Linked DNA regions of Homo sapiens: regions 1 and 2 are each linked to region 3. Evidence: promoter capture Hi-C in 16 types of primary human blood cells and fetal thymus (Javierre and others, 2016). All regions are on one chromosome and are shown on one strand. Each heading gives the region's core, a stretch centred on a gene start or on the middle of the fragment in contact. The rest is flanking DNA. Distances are from core to core; before and after follow the strand shown. Region 1 overlaps STAC (SH3 and cysteine rich domain). Region 2 overlaps STAC (SH3 and cysteine rich domain). Region 3 holds the start of STAC (SH3 and cysteine rich domain).

Evidence for each region. The method cuts DNA at HindIII sites, captures the fragments that hold promoters and counts their contacts. A CHiCAGO score of 5 or more calls a contact.
Region 1: a contact is called between a fragment that was not itself captured here and the fragment with the promoter of STAC in region 3, in 1 of 17 cell types (M2 macrophages). The highest score is 5.3, in M2 macrophages.
Region 2: a fragment that was not itself captured here is called in contact with the fragment with the promoter of STAC in region 3 in 2 of 17 cell types (M0 macrophages and M1 macrophages); the score reaches 5.3 in M0 macrophages.

The regions. Positions count from the first base shown.
Region 1 is chr3:36,515,450-36,520,061 of GRCh38, reverse strand. The region is part of intron 8 of STAC (SH3 and cysteine rich domain); the gene reads right to left. Among named protein-coding and RNA genes, the nearest start is that of STAC, 140 kb to the right of the region's middle. The HindIII fragment of the contact is 1,457 bases long and covers 647-2,103 here.
Region 2 is chr3:36,535,548-36,540,465 of GRCh38, reverse strand. All of the region lies in intron 10 of STAC (SH3 and cysteine rich domain), which reads right to left. Among named protein-coding and RNA genes, the nearest start is that of STAC, 160 kb to the right of the region's middle. The HindIII fragment of the contact is 2,107 bases long and covers 2,522-4,628 here.
Region 3 is chr3:36,378,652-36,383,541 of GRCh38, reverse strand. It overlaps STAC (SH3 and cysteine rich domain), which reads right to left and starts at 3,038. Exons shown (of 11, transcript NM_003149.3): 1 at 2,788-3,038. The coding sequence starts at 2,898. The region is part of intron 2 of LOC124906227 (a long non-coding RNA gene); the gene reads left to right. The HindIII fragment of the contact is 3,341 bases long and covers 2,410-4,890 here.

The sequences.
Region 1 (4,612 bases), core at 126-2,625, 140 kb before region 3:
CCCGTCTGGCATATCCTTTCAGATTACCTCCCCTTTTTCAATGCCTTTGAGCTATTTTACATCTCAAGCAAGTCGTAGAAAACTGATATTAATGCAAATGATTTTTGTCCAAAGAAATGCAAGTGAACTTTGCCTGGTGGAATATAGTCAGTTATTACCCTTTATCCTGTGACTACTGACTGGTTTTGCATCTATTTGTAAATTCCTGTCAGCATTCCTCATTGCCTATGTATATGTGATATATTGAGTTCTCATTTGAACAAGGTGGAGCATCTTACTGGTTCTCTCATTAATTAATGAGCCATGTAAAAATTCTGACATGTGTTCAATTTATATTGCACGAGAGTCATGTTTTTATCTTAAATTTAAAAAATTATCCTTTAACCGGAGTGACTTCTCAGTAACATGCTCTGTAGATCACAAACTTCCTGGTCTTAGCAACCATACTTAACAAACCTAATGCACTTAAAATAAGTGATGTGAGGGGCCAAAAAGGGATAAAGTGTTACCTACTCTTGCTGATTAAAATAGAATTGTCAGCTTTATCAGAGAGAAAACTTAGAACAATGAACCTAGGATCAAAAGTGTGGTGGAGGAGAAAGATCAGTGGACTGGGAGTCACCTCCAAGGGTTCTAGTCCTAAGCTTCCATTTTCTACCTGTAAATTATTGGGCTTGGTTCTCCTACCTCACCTCCAGAAAGAGAAAAAAGAACCATACATTTTCTCACTGGAATATGAGCTAAACAGCCAAGCGTCCATTCACTAAGCATTGCCAAGTTTTAAGGCAGTCTTTCAGAATCAAGACTGGAATTAATGTAGTTATCTAAATATGCTCCTGCCTCTGCCATGAATTTTCACCACCTCTTTTTGTAATGGGGCTTGCCTTTGCCCCTGATTTGGCACCTCTTAAAGTAATTATCTGGTTCTGAAGTTTAACCCCATTATTCCCTTATGCTTTCCTCACTGGAGAGAGAGTGACTGCTCACTAACAAGGCTTCCCAGCCACCCATGACCCCTCTTCCTTCTGGAATCCCAGCTTCTTTCACGTCCCTTTGAGGCTGCTGTAAGTTACCTGGGCTACCTCACACCCACAGCCCTGCACACTGGATTGTAACTTCTGATCTACTCTTCTGCTGGTCCCCTGGCCCATGACTGCCTGAGCTCTTTGAGAACAGGGCCTGTGAATGGTTCTCCCAGAAAAGAGCAGATGCTTGGCTATCATGCGATGAGAGGTGAATAGATGAAGTAAATCCTGGAAATAGCATACAAGAGTTCACATCACTTTTAACTCTTTTTAAAGTAGTGCTTTGAAAATACCCCAAAGAGATGAATTCAGGCCATCCCATCTCCAGAAATTCTGGCAAATACTAACTAATGGGAGAAATGATTGCTTGCTTTCATTCAGACTTGCCCATGGAGAATCTGAGACTTGCTGCTTCCAGGAGCGGCCGTTCATGAATCTAAATTTGCACTTGGCGTTACAAAAGAAGATAGGTTTTCTTTGAAGCCCCCCAAATTTAGGTGTTCTGACATACATTGAAGTAGTAATTAATTTGTATTTATTTTAGGATTTAATAATACTGAAAGAGCAGTTCCCTCTTTTCCTCTCTTGGCTTATAGTCTTTTTTTTTCCTTCTTTTTTCTACCCTTATGAAAAATGGCCATTATCATATAAATCTGTTTGAGGAGAGCTAATAAAAACGAAAATGATTTAGATGTGGGAAGTCAAAATTAATTATTTGGAACAGGCATTGTATGATTGCTAAAATATGCATTTAAACCTTTAAATCTTTTATTTACTCTCAATCCTTTGTTACAGTGTCCCTAAGATGTTTTAGGAGTTTATGTTTACTTGAAGTCATTTATATCTGCTGATTATTTACATAAAATATCAACTCAGCAAAGTCATGAAAGTCATTGTTGATTGAAAAGTTTTTATCAGCTTAAAAAAGGTGCCTTGGTGTGAATAATAAGTGATAACTCCAAGACTCTGTTTTGCAGACTGCTGAGCCCAAAAGCAGTGAGGATAATGTGACTGGTTACGTTGTAAGTGTTGAAGGCAGGATTTAATTTCATCAAAACTAAGTGTGGGTTATCAAGCTTTGGCTAACAATGTGTGTGTGCTTGTGTGTGTGTGAATGAATGTGTACTTGAATGTGTATAAGTGTGTGTGTATGTGCATGTATGTGTGTGTGTGTGACTGTGAGTGTGTGTGGGAGGTTATTTACATGTATAAGTGTATCACACACATGTACACACCCACTTGGCCAGAAGGATGATGTGACATATGGTCTATGTTAATTCACAGAGCAGTATATGATAATAATGACAACAGTGCTGATTATAATAGGGTTCTCCAGTTTGTATTCTATTTTCATTAATTAATTAATTTAGATAGATAGATAGATAGATAGGGTCTAGCTCTGTCATTCAGGCTGGAGTGTAGTGGTGTGTTCATAGCTCACTACAGCCTCAACCTCCTGGGCTCAAGTGATCCTTCTGCTTCAGCTTCCTGAAGAGCTAGGGCTACAGGTATGCACCACCATGCTTGGCTAATTTTTTATTTCTATTTTTGTGGAGATGGTGTCTTTCCATGTTGCGCAGGCTGGTTTTGAACTCCTGGGCTCAAGCAATACACCTGCGTTGGCCTCCCACAGTGCTGGGATTACAGGCATAAGCCACTGCACTTGGCCATGTATTTTTAGCAGCATTTAAGAGCTTTGTTCATGAATTAAACTGGCAGTCCATAAAGTGTAATTTTCAGGGCTCTTCAAAAAAGTTGATAATAAGGGTAATTGGTGGAACCTGTCCAAGACTCTTAATTTCAGGAGATTATCCACTATACCACCCTGCTATACCCTGATAGGAGAACCTGGGTAGCCCTTTAATGTTATCAGGCCTCAAATTGTCAGCAATGTTCGAGACCCCATGCATGATGGCATCACAGCTTGGGTATCAGTGATAAAATTTCATATTATAGCTCATCATGTCAGCAACTGCAAAACCTGCTCCCAAGATAAATATTGGATATCACAGCCCCTTTTTGCTGGACCAGTTGGACAAGGTCTCATTGGGCCTGCTCAAAGGGAGAGTCTTTAACTGTGTTTTCTCTACTCTATATCCTTAGGGTGGTGTTAATGAGGTTGTTCAGAAGACTAGGAGAGAAAATACATTGTGAAAAGATGTAATTATGAAGAGAAGGTATCTAAAATCTACTGTGACCTCACTTTGTACTGGGCATGAAATTCCACATTTTATTTATATTATCCTGTTTAATACCCAGTCTTCCTAGGAAGGAGAAAACTGAGGCTCTAAAAGATTAAACAGTTTGCTAAAATTGACACAGATAGTGTCAGAGTTGGAAACTAGACCCAGGCCTATCTGACTGCCAGAAATTTCTCTTTTCTGTCTTGCCAGCTTGCTGTCCTGCTCTCTGCCCTTGATGGTGGAAAGATAGAGAATTATCATGGTCTGCATTACCTCCAGAGGTTTAGGTGGGAAATAGCAAATTAATTTATAAAGGAAGTTTATTTCTAATTTTTCATGGCAGTGTGAAAAAAAATAAAGGAAGTTTATTTTGCACTGGAACTGTAGCAAAGGAGACTGTATAAAGTCTCTGCCTTTATATGGGATTTGGAGACTAATGATGGGTCCATGGCACTTCTAAGAAAAGTATTCACTCACCTAAGAACAAGAGGGCAGCAACCAGCTCTTCCTCTTGTGAAAGGAAAATAAAATCTCAGGACTCTAAGCTCACTATGTCAAAGGGAAAATATGAGGGCTGGGCACGGTGGTTCGCGCCTGTAATACCAGCACTTTAGGAGGCTGAGACGGGAGGATCACGAGGTCAGGAGTTTGAGACCAGCCTGGCCAACATGATGAAACCCCGTTTCTACTAAAAATGCAAAAATTAGTGGGGCGTGGTGGCAGGTGCCTGTAATCCCAGCTACTTGGGAGCCTGAGGCAGGAGAATCACTTGAACCTGGGAGGTGGAGGTTGCAGTGAGCCAAGATTGCGCCACTGCTCTCTGGCTAGGGCAACATGAGTGAAACTCTGTCTCAAAAAAAAAAAAAAAAAAAAAAAAAGGAGAAAAATGAAAAACTGTTAAGCTTGGGATCTGAGTCACGCAACAACTGCCTTCCTTTTTGTTCCTAAACGGATAGTTGCAAAGATAGAAGGCCACATATCTCCCCAGGTGGGCTCCCTCAAATTGCTCACAAGGAAATTCCTTGTGGGCCCCAAACTCTACCCTAAAACAGAGTTCTGTTGAATCTCACCCTGACAATATAAGTTAACAGCTTTTCCTCACAGGTACAGGACAAAGACAAGACTAGAAAGCATCCCTCCACCTACCTGAGACAAATCTGACTGCTTCCTCTACTCTGTGTTTATTCATATCTTATGTAAAATGCAGATTTACTGCTGAACACCAGACAAATGGGTAACTGACTGTTCCTCTACCCGCTTTCACTTGTAACATGTGGATTCAGTGAGCATTAATCAAAGTCTCACAAGAATGTCATCACGTATCTCACTACCTACCCTCCCCACTTTTTTTCTTTCCTCCTTACCTTCCTGATGCCCTTTCCCCTTCAAACACTGAAGTCTTCA
Region 2 (4,918 bases), core at 2,326-4,825, 160 kb before region 3:
CTTAAGGGCTCAAGTGATTAGATTTGGTCCACCTAGACAATCTAGGGTATCTCCCTATCCCAGAGTCCATAACCTTCATCACATCTGCAAAGTCCCTTTTGTGTAAACTCTGGATTAGTTTCCTGTTGTTGCTACAATAAATTACCCCAAATTTGGTGGCTTATAACAACACAAATTTATTATCTTACAGTTCTAGGGTTCAGAAGTCCTAAGAACAAGGTGCTGGCAGGGCTGCATTCTTTCTAGAGGCTCTAAGAGAGAGTCTGTTTCCTTGTCTTTTCCAGCTCTAGAGGTCATCACCTATATTCCTTGGCTCACAGCTCCTTCCTTCACCTTCAAGGCCAGGAGCATAGCATCTTCAAATCTCTCTCTCTCTCTGACCCCGGCTTCCATCATCACATCTCCTTCTCTGACGCTGGCCCTCCTGTCTCCCTCTTCTAAGAATCTCTGTGATTACACTGGGCTCACCCTGATAATCCAGATAATCTACTGGTCACAAAATCTTTAACTTAATCACATCTACAAAATTCCTTTTGTCATATAAAGTAACATATTCCAAGTTTTGGAGGTTAGGACCCGGGCATCTTTGGGGAGTTGTTATTCTGCCTACCACAGGATAAAAGGACCAAGACTATTACAATAAAACATTTTAAAAATTACAGAAAATATGCATGTATGTCTCAGAGTTCTCCTTTCAGACATACTGAATGCAGTAGGTTGAAGGAAGACTTGGCCTCAGTGTTATAAGGAGAAAATATCTCGAGGTAAAGAGATGATGCAATGAGACACAAAGAAAACATGCTGTATAGCAAAGGCATAGATTCAACCTAAATGCCCATCAATGGTAGACTGGATAAAGAAAATATATGTACCCCAAATCTGGGGTACATATACACCATGGAATACTAAGCAGCCATAAAACAACAAGATCATGTCCTTTGCAGGGATATGGATGGAGCTGGAGGCCATTGTCCTTAGCAAACTAACACAGGAACAGAAAACCAAAAAAATACTGCATGTTCTCACTTGTAAGTTGGAGCTAAATGATGAGGACACATGGACACACAAAGGGGAATAACACACACTGGGACCTTTTAGGGGGTGAAGGGTGGGAGGATGGAGGGGATCAGAAAAAATAACTAATGGGTGCTAGGCTTAATACCTAGGTGAGGAAATAATCTGTACAACAAAACCCCAGGACACAAGTTTAACTATATAACAAACCTGCACTGTACCCCTGAACTTAAAATAAAAGTTAAAGAAAAGAAAAGAAAATATTCTGTAGAAGAAAGGGGCTGACTGAGAAGAAAAGTCTACCGGGAAATAAATACTAAACTAACATGTATTAGAAGCAATGAAAGACTGAATTGAAACTTCAGAAAAATCAAAGTGAAGTGAGGACTATCTTGAAACAGTCTCTTGGGAGGAATCAGAGAGAGATAGAGAAGTGTAAAATAATAAAGACACTAAAACTATAAAGGAAACATGGTAAACCAGAAATGATCCAACCAAAGAATGATTAAGCTCCTGGAGAAAGAGGCATTGAGAGTGAAGGGCAAATGATAAACTAGAGAAAATATTGGTCACATGTGGTACAGCAGACATAAATATTCTTCAAAGGTAGAAAACTTTTTAAATAATGTAAGAAAATGGGCAAAGTACATAAATAGATTATTTTAAAAAATGCCCTATATATATGAGATAAAATGTAAGCCTCTTTAACCATCCAGAAAATGCAGATTAGCATGAAATATTATTAATCTATCAAACTGACATAACAAAAAATAATAATGTTAAATTCTTGCAAGCATGTGATGATCTGGATATGCTCATGAACATCTGGTGTGAGTGTGTAAGTTGGCACGACCTTTCTGAATGCAATTTGGCAGTATGCATCAAGAATTGTACACGTCTTGATCTGTTTTCCGCTAAATTCCAAAGTACATCCTAAGAAAATAATCAGAGTTAGAGACAAATATTTATGTTCAGAGATGTTCATTGCAGTTATCAATAACAGTTTTAAAAATAAAAACTCTGAATATCCAATAACAAGAGAAACTTAAACACATTCCTGTACATCTAGACTAAGGATTGGCAAACTTTTTCTATAAAGGGCCAAATGCTAAATATTGTAGGCTTTGCAGGCCATCTGGTCTCTGTTGCAGTGACTCAACTCAGCTATTTAGTTGTAGCATGAAAGCAGCCGCAGACCATATATATATGAATAAATTTAGCTATGTTCTAATAAAACTTTCTTAAAACCTGTGTTTTGATAAACATTTAATGACTAAATTTTTTAAATGTTAGGAAACTAAAGAGGATATGATATCAAAATATGAATTAAAAGTTTGACATGAAATATGCCAGTGTTTATGTTGGTAATAATTTAATGGTTGAATTGCTTATGGTCTCTATTTTATCTTTTATACCTCTTAAAAATATTTTCCCTCAAATTTTCTCCAAAATAAATGCATTTTGGTTTTGTAATATAAAATATTTTTTTCTGTTTTTTTTTAAAGCTTTGATAGAACACAAATAATAAATGAAAATGGTTCTATAGGTGCAATAAAACTATGCATCAATTTAAATAATTTTTTTTCAGGAGGATCTTTAATTAATGTTTGGTCAACTAGAGTAAAATAGACTGAATTCCACATAAATATTCAATTTATGGACTTAGTTAATTTTCCTAAGTATTTTAAAGTCCACTTTTTAGATCAGTATTTTTTGTTTTCTTTTTAAAAATTTTTATTTTATTTTAAGTTCCAGGATATATGTGCAGGATGTGCAGGTTTGTTAGATAGGTAAATGTGTGCCATGGTGGTTTGCTGCACCTATCAACCCATCACCTAGGTATTAAGCCCACGTGCATTATATTTTTATCCTGATGCTCTCCCTCTCACTACCCCACCACGCCCCTGCCCCAACAGGCCCTAGTGTGTGTTGTTCCCTCCCTGTGTCCATGTGTTCTCATTGTTCAGCTCCCATTTATGACTGAGAACATGCAGTGTTTGGTTTTCTGTTCCTGCATTAGTTTGATGAGGATAATGGCTTCCAGCTCCATCCATGTCCCTGCAAAGGACATGATCTTATTCCTTTTTATGGCTGCATAGTATTCTATGGTGTATGTGTACCATATTTTCTTTATTCAGTCTTTCATTGATGGGCATTTGGGTTGATTCCATGTCTTTGCTATTGGGAATAGTGCTGCAATGAACATATGCATGCATTTATCTTTATAATAAAATGATTTATATTCCTTTAGGTATATACCCAGTAATGGGATTGCTGGGTCAAAGGGTATTTCTGGTTCTAGGTTTTTGAGAAATTGCCACACTATCTTCCACAATGGTTTAATTTACATTCCCACCAACAGTGTAAAAGCATTCCTATTTCTCCACAGCCTCATCAGCATCTGCTGTTTCTTGACTCTTTAATAATCACCATTCTGACTGGAGTGACATGGTACTCTTTGTGGTTTTGATTTTCAGTTCTCTAATGATCAGTGATGTTGAGCTTTTCTTCATATGTTTGCTGGCCATATAAATATCTTCTTTTGAGAAGTGTCTGTTCTTGTCCTTTGCCCACTTTTTATTGGGGTTTTTTTTTTTTTGTTTTTTGTTTTCTTGTTTTTTTTGTAAATTTGTTTAAGTTCTTTGTAGATTCTGGATATTAGATCTTTGTCATATGGGTAGATTGCAATAATTTTCTCCCATTCTGTAGGCTGTCTGTTCACTCTGATAGTTTCTTTTGCTGTGCAGAAGCTCTTTAGTTTAATTAGATCCCCTTTGTCAATTTTTGCTTTTGTTGCAATTGCTTTTGATGTTTTCGTCAGGAAGTCTTTGCCTGTGCCTATGTCCTGAATGGTTGAGTTAATTTTTGTATAAGGTGTAAGAAAGGGGTCCATCTTCAATCTTCTGCATATGGCTAGCCCACTTCCCAAGCACCATTTATTAAATAGGGACTCCTTTCCCCATTGCTTGGTTTTGTCAGATTTGTCAAAGATTAGATGGTTGTAGATGTGTGGTCTTATTTCTGAGACCTCTATACTGTTCCACTGGCCTATGTATCTGTTTTTGTACCAGTACCATGCTGTTTTGGTTATTGTAGCCTTGTAGTATAGCTTGAAGCCAGGTAGCGGGATGCCTCCAGCTTTGTTCTTTTTGCTTAGGTTGCCTTGTCTATACAGGCTCTTTTTTGGTTCCATAAGAATTTTAAAGTAGTTTTTTTTTCTAATTCTGTGAAGAATGTCAATGGCCATACACCCTCCCAAGACTGAACTGGGAAGAAGTTGAATCCCTGAATAGACCAATCACAAGTTCTGAAATTGAGGCAGTAACAAATAGCCTACCAACCAAAAAAAGCCCAGCACCAGACAGATTTACAGCTGAATTCTACCAGAGGTACAAAAAGGAGCTGGTACCATTTCTTCTGAAACTATTCCAAACAATTGAAAAGGAGGGACCCCTCCCTAATTCATTTTGTGAGGCCAGCATCATCCCGGTACTAAAACCTGGCAGAGACACAACAAAAAAAGAAAACTTCAGGCCAATATCCCTGATGAAGATCGATGTAAAAATCCTTGGTAAAATACTGGCAAACTGAATCCAGCAGCACATCAAAAAGCTTATTCACCATGATCAAGTTGGCTTCATTCTTGGGATGCAAGGCTGGTTCAACATATGCAAATCAATACATGTAATTCACATATAAACAGAACTAAAGACAAAAACCACATGATTATTTCAATAGATGCAGAAAAGGCCTTCAATAAATTTCAACGTCCATTCATTTTAAAAACTCTCAATAAACTAGGTATTGAAGGAACGTACCTCAAAATAATAAGAGCCATTTATGGCAAACCCACAGCCAATATTATACCGAATGGGCAAAAGCTGGAAGCATTCTCCTTGAAAAT
Region 3 (4,890 bases), core at 1,789-4,288:
CTGATAGCATATTTACGGGTGAAGTTATTTCATGTCTGGAATTTGCTTTAAAATGATCCAGTATGTGTAGGGTGGTGGTGGTGGTGGTAATACATAAAACAATACTGTCCATGAATTAATTGTGAAGCCACATGATTAGGTCCATGACAGTTCTTTATACTGTTTTCTCTACTTTTGTGTATATTAAAATTTTCCATAATAAATTTTCACAGTGAAAATGATCTAACCTTTCTTGGCTTCCACTTCCCCATCCATAAAATAGAAATATTAACAGAATCTTCTATTGTGAAGATTAAGGTTGTATCTGACTTACAGTAAACATTCAGTAGATGCTCACTATTGTTCTCGCTCAACTATGTAAATATATAAACAGATTTAAAAAGACATGAGATATAGATCAAAGTTTTATTAGTAGATGCTTCTGGATGGTAAACCAAGAGCTAATTTATTTTTCTTTTCATCATTTATGTCTGGACTGTTCAAATATCTACAAAGAGTATTTGTTACTCTTATAATAAGACAAAAAAACCTAACTCTTTAAAAAAAGTAACTTTAAGTCTTCCTTGAGAGAGTTTAATGCCAAGGGGGCCTGAACCATGTTTGTCCCACAAGATATTTTACAAACAAGACCACTTCATGGAAGAGTAAGATGGAATGCATATTACTGTCTTGTTCACATTTTCCTCACCAAGCTCTCATGCTCAGGGTCAAAGATCCTTGTAAACGCCAGTAAGCTTTAACATGTGGCCTTCCTAGAATAGAATGAATTGAGCCTTCCTCTCCTCCAGTGTCATGCCATCCTACTCCCTTACCTTACCACACGTTCCTCCCTACTAGCAGTTTAGCCTTTTTTAAGGGGCATGGATCACTTTGAGAATATCATGAATGCTATGCCAAGAAAAATTCACATGTAGGCATACAATATTGCATTCAATTTCCTAGGGTTCATGGGCTGCCATAGTTCATCTCCACTAATTAAGCTTACTGAGGCCATGACATCAAATTTAGGAATGTAGAAACACACATCCGGTGTATAGACCACTTTGAGAAAAACTAATTTGTACAAAACCATAAGCCAGATAAATTGGTGGATAATTATGGGCATTACATATGTGGCTTTTGCTCTGCCAAATAATTTCCATTAGGACATCTATAAATAGCAAATCCATATAATGCATTTGAACCATGCCACTGTTTGCCCAAATGCTAAGCCCTTTCCAGAACACGCCTACTGCAGAGCAACAGGCCAATTCAAAAAGTTCAATACTAGTTTTACTCTTGAGTTCAGCTACATTCATTTATAGAATTCTAGCTTTCCTCTAAAATGGCCACTAACCTATATCACTCTGGGGACTGATGTTCAATGGGAGGCAATGATACCCAGAAACTTTTTGACTGAGGAGAGGTAGTGCATGTGTATGGGTTATCAGATTGCTTTGGAGTGGATCATTTGAGATGAGATAGATTCCATCTCTTTATCTCAGGAAGGAAAAGGATAAACATGATTGAGTCCTTACAGTATACCAGGTGGACATTAGGGCCTCTCATGTACTCCTCACAATGTCTCTGGAAGTTGGGGCTTTTTCCCTCATTTCCAACCGAGTTTTAGAAAAGTTGACACACATACCCCAGGTCTGGCAGCCAGTAAGTAACAGGAAAAAAATAAAAATAAATAAGATGTAAAGCTTTCGGGCTTAGATTACCATCATTGATGGTTAACTTCAGGGGGCTGGGAAATGTACAGTGCCCAGTATCACACCAAATCCCCAGAGCCACTCAGGCTGTGATTTTCATCCTCCTGATCATATCAATGGCTTCCAGGGATGCATGTGAAGAGAGACAGGATCGCAGTCTTCCTTGCCCCATCTGGCCTGTCCCTATCCTATAAACTGGCAACCCCTTTCCTTTGCTGGTATACACGGACTGCCTCACATTCCCCAAATGCCTGGGGATCGCACAATGAAATCAGAATAAAGAGCCAGGAGCTCTACACTTAAAAGAATCCACATAACTACAAACTCCATCTTAGGATTTCCACCACCAGCTGAGTTGCCATTTGGCATTGCACTGCTAGCAGCCACATTTTACTCTATCCTCTTCCAAGATTTTCAAACATGTGCCTGGCACCCACGGGAGTTTCAGAGGAAGTGTAACAGTGACAGGAGAACTGCTGCGGGCTTGGTTTTTTGTATACGTGTTAGTGTAACTTTCATAAAAGCAAGTATAGGTTCTTAGAGTATTAACTTTCACAAGAGGAACATCAACTTTCAGACAAACGCAGGCAAACCCTTTCTTTTTCTTTTTCTTTTTTAGTGAGTAGTATCTGAAGGTAGGGGTGATCCCTGTTAAGCAAAAGGTCTCTGAGACCCTTGGGATACATACATGCTTTTCTGGCCCAGTACTCAAGCTTTTCTGGAAGAGTATCCCTCGGCTGTCTCCATCCCTCAGCCTTCAGAAGCCACCTAATACCTACCTACACGTGCTTTGGACACAAGCAGGTTCAAAGCACAAAAAAAACCAAGCTACCACCCCGCAAGAAATCGATCTCTGAACCCGGAGCCACCATGAATTGCGTGTGTGAATGTGTGGGCGGGAAGGCTGGGTCCACAGGGACGTGGTCCAGCATCGTGAGCAGCGGGTCCTACCGGACGTTCAAGTCCTACAGCCCTGGGCTAACTAGCAAGTCTCAGACCCCCACGCCCGTGCTAGATAGGAGGAGAGACAAAGCTGGACCGACAGGAGAGGAGAGTGAGTTTGTGTTCTCTTGGGGGCAAGCGTGCTCGGTACCTTGGATTCCTGGCTGCTGGTGGATGCAGGAGAGGGCGGTTGCTCGGCGCCCACCGCCTCCTTGGGCAGCCCGTCCACGCCGTCCTCGCGGGGGCTGCTCGGAGGGATCATCGTGGCCGCGCGGGAACGGTGTTGGGCTCCCGGAGGAACAGCGAGGCTTCTGTCCTGCGCGCCCTGCCCGCCGCGCGCCAGGCTGCTCAGCTCCGGGTCCTGGGGACTCCCATCCTCGCCGAGGCGCCGACGTGCCCTCCTCCAGCCTCGCTCCCTCTCCCTCCCCGCCCTGCCCACCTCCCCGGCACTTCCGCGGGCGTGGAGGAGAGTGCGCCCTGCCCCGCCCCGCCGCGCCCGCGGCCACCTCGCCGGCGACCTCACAGTCGTGACTGCCACTCGGCAGCGGGCGAGCGGGCTTCTGCTCGCCCGCAGGAGGAGGAAGGAGGCGGGGAGGCAGCTCCAGGGCGGGGCTGCGCGGCCAGCGCCTGGAGTAGTGAGGGCAGGCAGGGGGCAGCGCCCTGGAAAGGGCTGGGGGAAGGCTGGGCGCACGCCGGCACTGGGTGGGGGTGATTCTTCAGAGAGGATGCTGAAAATTCAGACCCAAACCCCAAAGAATAGAAAATCTGTGAATGATATAGCCAGAAAGAGCCACTTGCAACAACTCCCTCATTCCTCACCCCAACGAATAGTGACTGAGACAGTGACTTAGCTAAGCTATTTATAGGGTTCAGTGACAGAGAGCAGGGGTCGGAGTGGGGGTCCCCTGACTCACGGGCACTGCGTTTTCTCCATTCAGCTTTGATCTAAAGCAGAGAGATAATGCAGTGTGTATATGGACACCTGTTCCTCGTTTGTTGTGCACTTATTGTACTAAACCCTTTCTTTTTACCTTATTTAATCCTCCCAGCTACTCTATGCGTCTAGGGATTATCACTTCCATTTTATAGATGAGGAAGTTGAGGCTGTAGGAAGACTGAGTAATTTGCTTTAAGTCACTAAACTATAATTGGTGAAACTGGAATTCGAACACATTTGGGCTTCAAAATCCATGCATTTCCGACTGTGGAGCCTCAAATCTAGGCCAGGTCTTGGCTGAAGAGCAATTGGATGTTGCAGTATAGCAAGAGTTGAGGACTGTTCACAGAGGGGCAAACCAGCCTGCCTTACTAAATCTTTTGGAAACATAGGAATAGCCCCACTGAATAAAGATACAGAGGGTCCAGTTTCTTTTGAAGACAACCTCAGTGTGCAGGGAAAAGAAACACACCTAGATATTTAAAAGCCTCTTTTCCCCCATTAATACAAAATACCCTCAATTTTTTAAAACAAAATTGCAAACTTCTGTTCAGATTTTTAAAATTAGCTGTAGATGTTTGCAAGAACAGCTTCATGGATGTGCAACCTGTGCAGTCACACAGGGCCCCGCGCTGATGCTGCCATCTTGAAATTCGGTAAAAATATTTAACAAGAGATCACATTTTCATTTTGTACTTGACCCTGCAAATTATGTGTTTGGTCCTGCATCCATGCCCTAGCTCATGTCTTTTAGAATAAACTTGCTCTTACTCTTTCCATCCCAGATGTCAATTGAAAGCTACTGTTCAATGTGTCAGCCTCTTACTCAGCATTTAGCTTTCAAAATGCTCTAAATTTTCTGGTGACCCTCAGTACGGGGCCAGATTGGCTAGCCCAAATGGCTTCAGCTTTTTCCTTCTCACAACACAATGCCTGAGTGTTCGATAGAGACAGAATTCTAGTAGCCAAAGTCACAAACACAATGACAGGAGCAGCCATATCAACACATTTTTATCAAGCATCTATTCTGTATCAGAATTGTGCCAGAAACTAATGATACAGCAGAGAGAAAACACAGATTAAGTCTGTTTTCCTGGAATTTAAGTCTAGTGGGAGAGACAGCAATTAATTAAATCACACACACATTTAAAAAAAAACTATGATAAGGGAAAGTACAAGACTTTGATGAGTGTGTACAAATGAAGCCTGAGCTAGCATGGGGCCAGACGAGGGTTTTCTTAGGAAACAAAACTCCCAGGGTCTACTGGCAATTCCAGTCTTGGTGAGCAAGCATGTCATGGCTTAGAACAATAAATT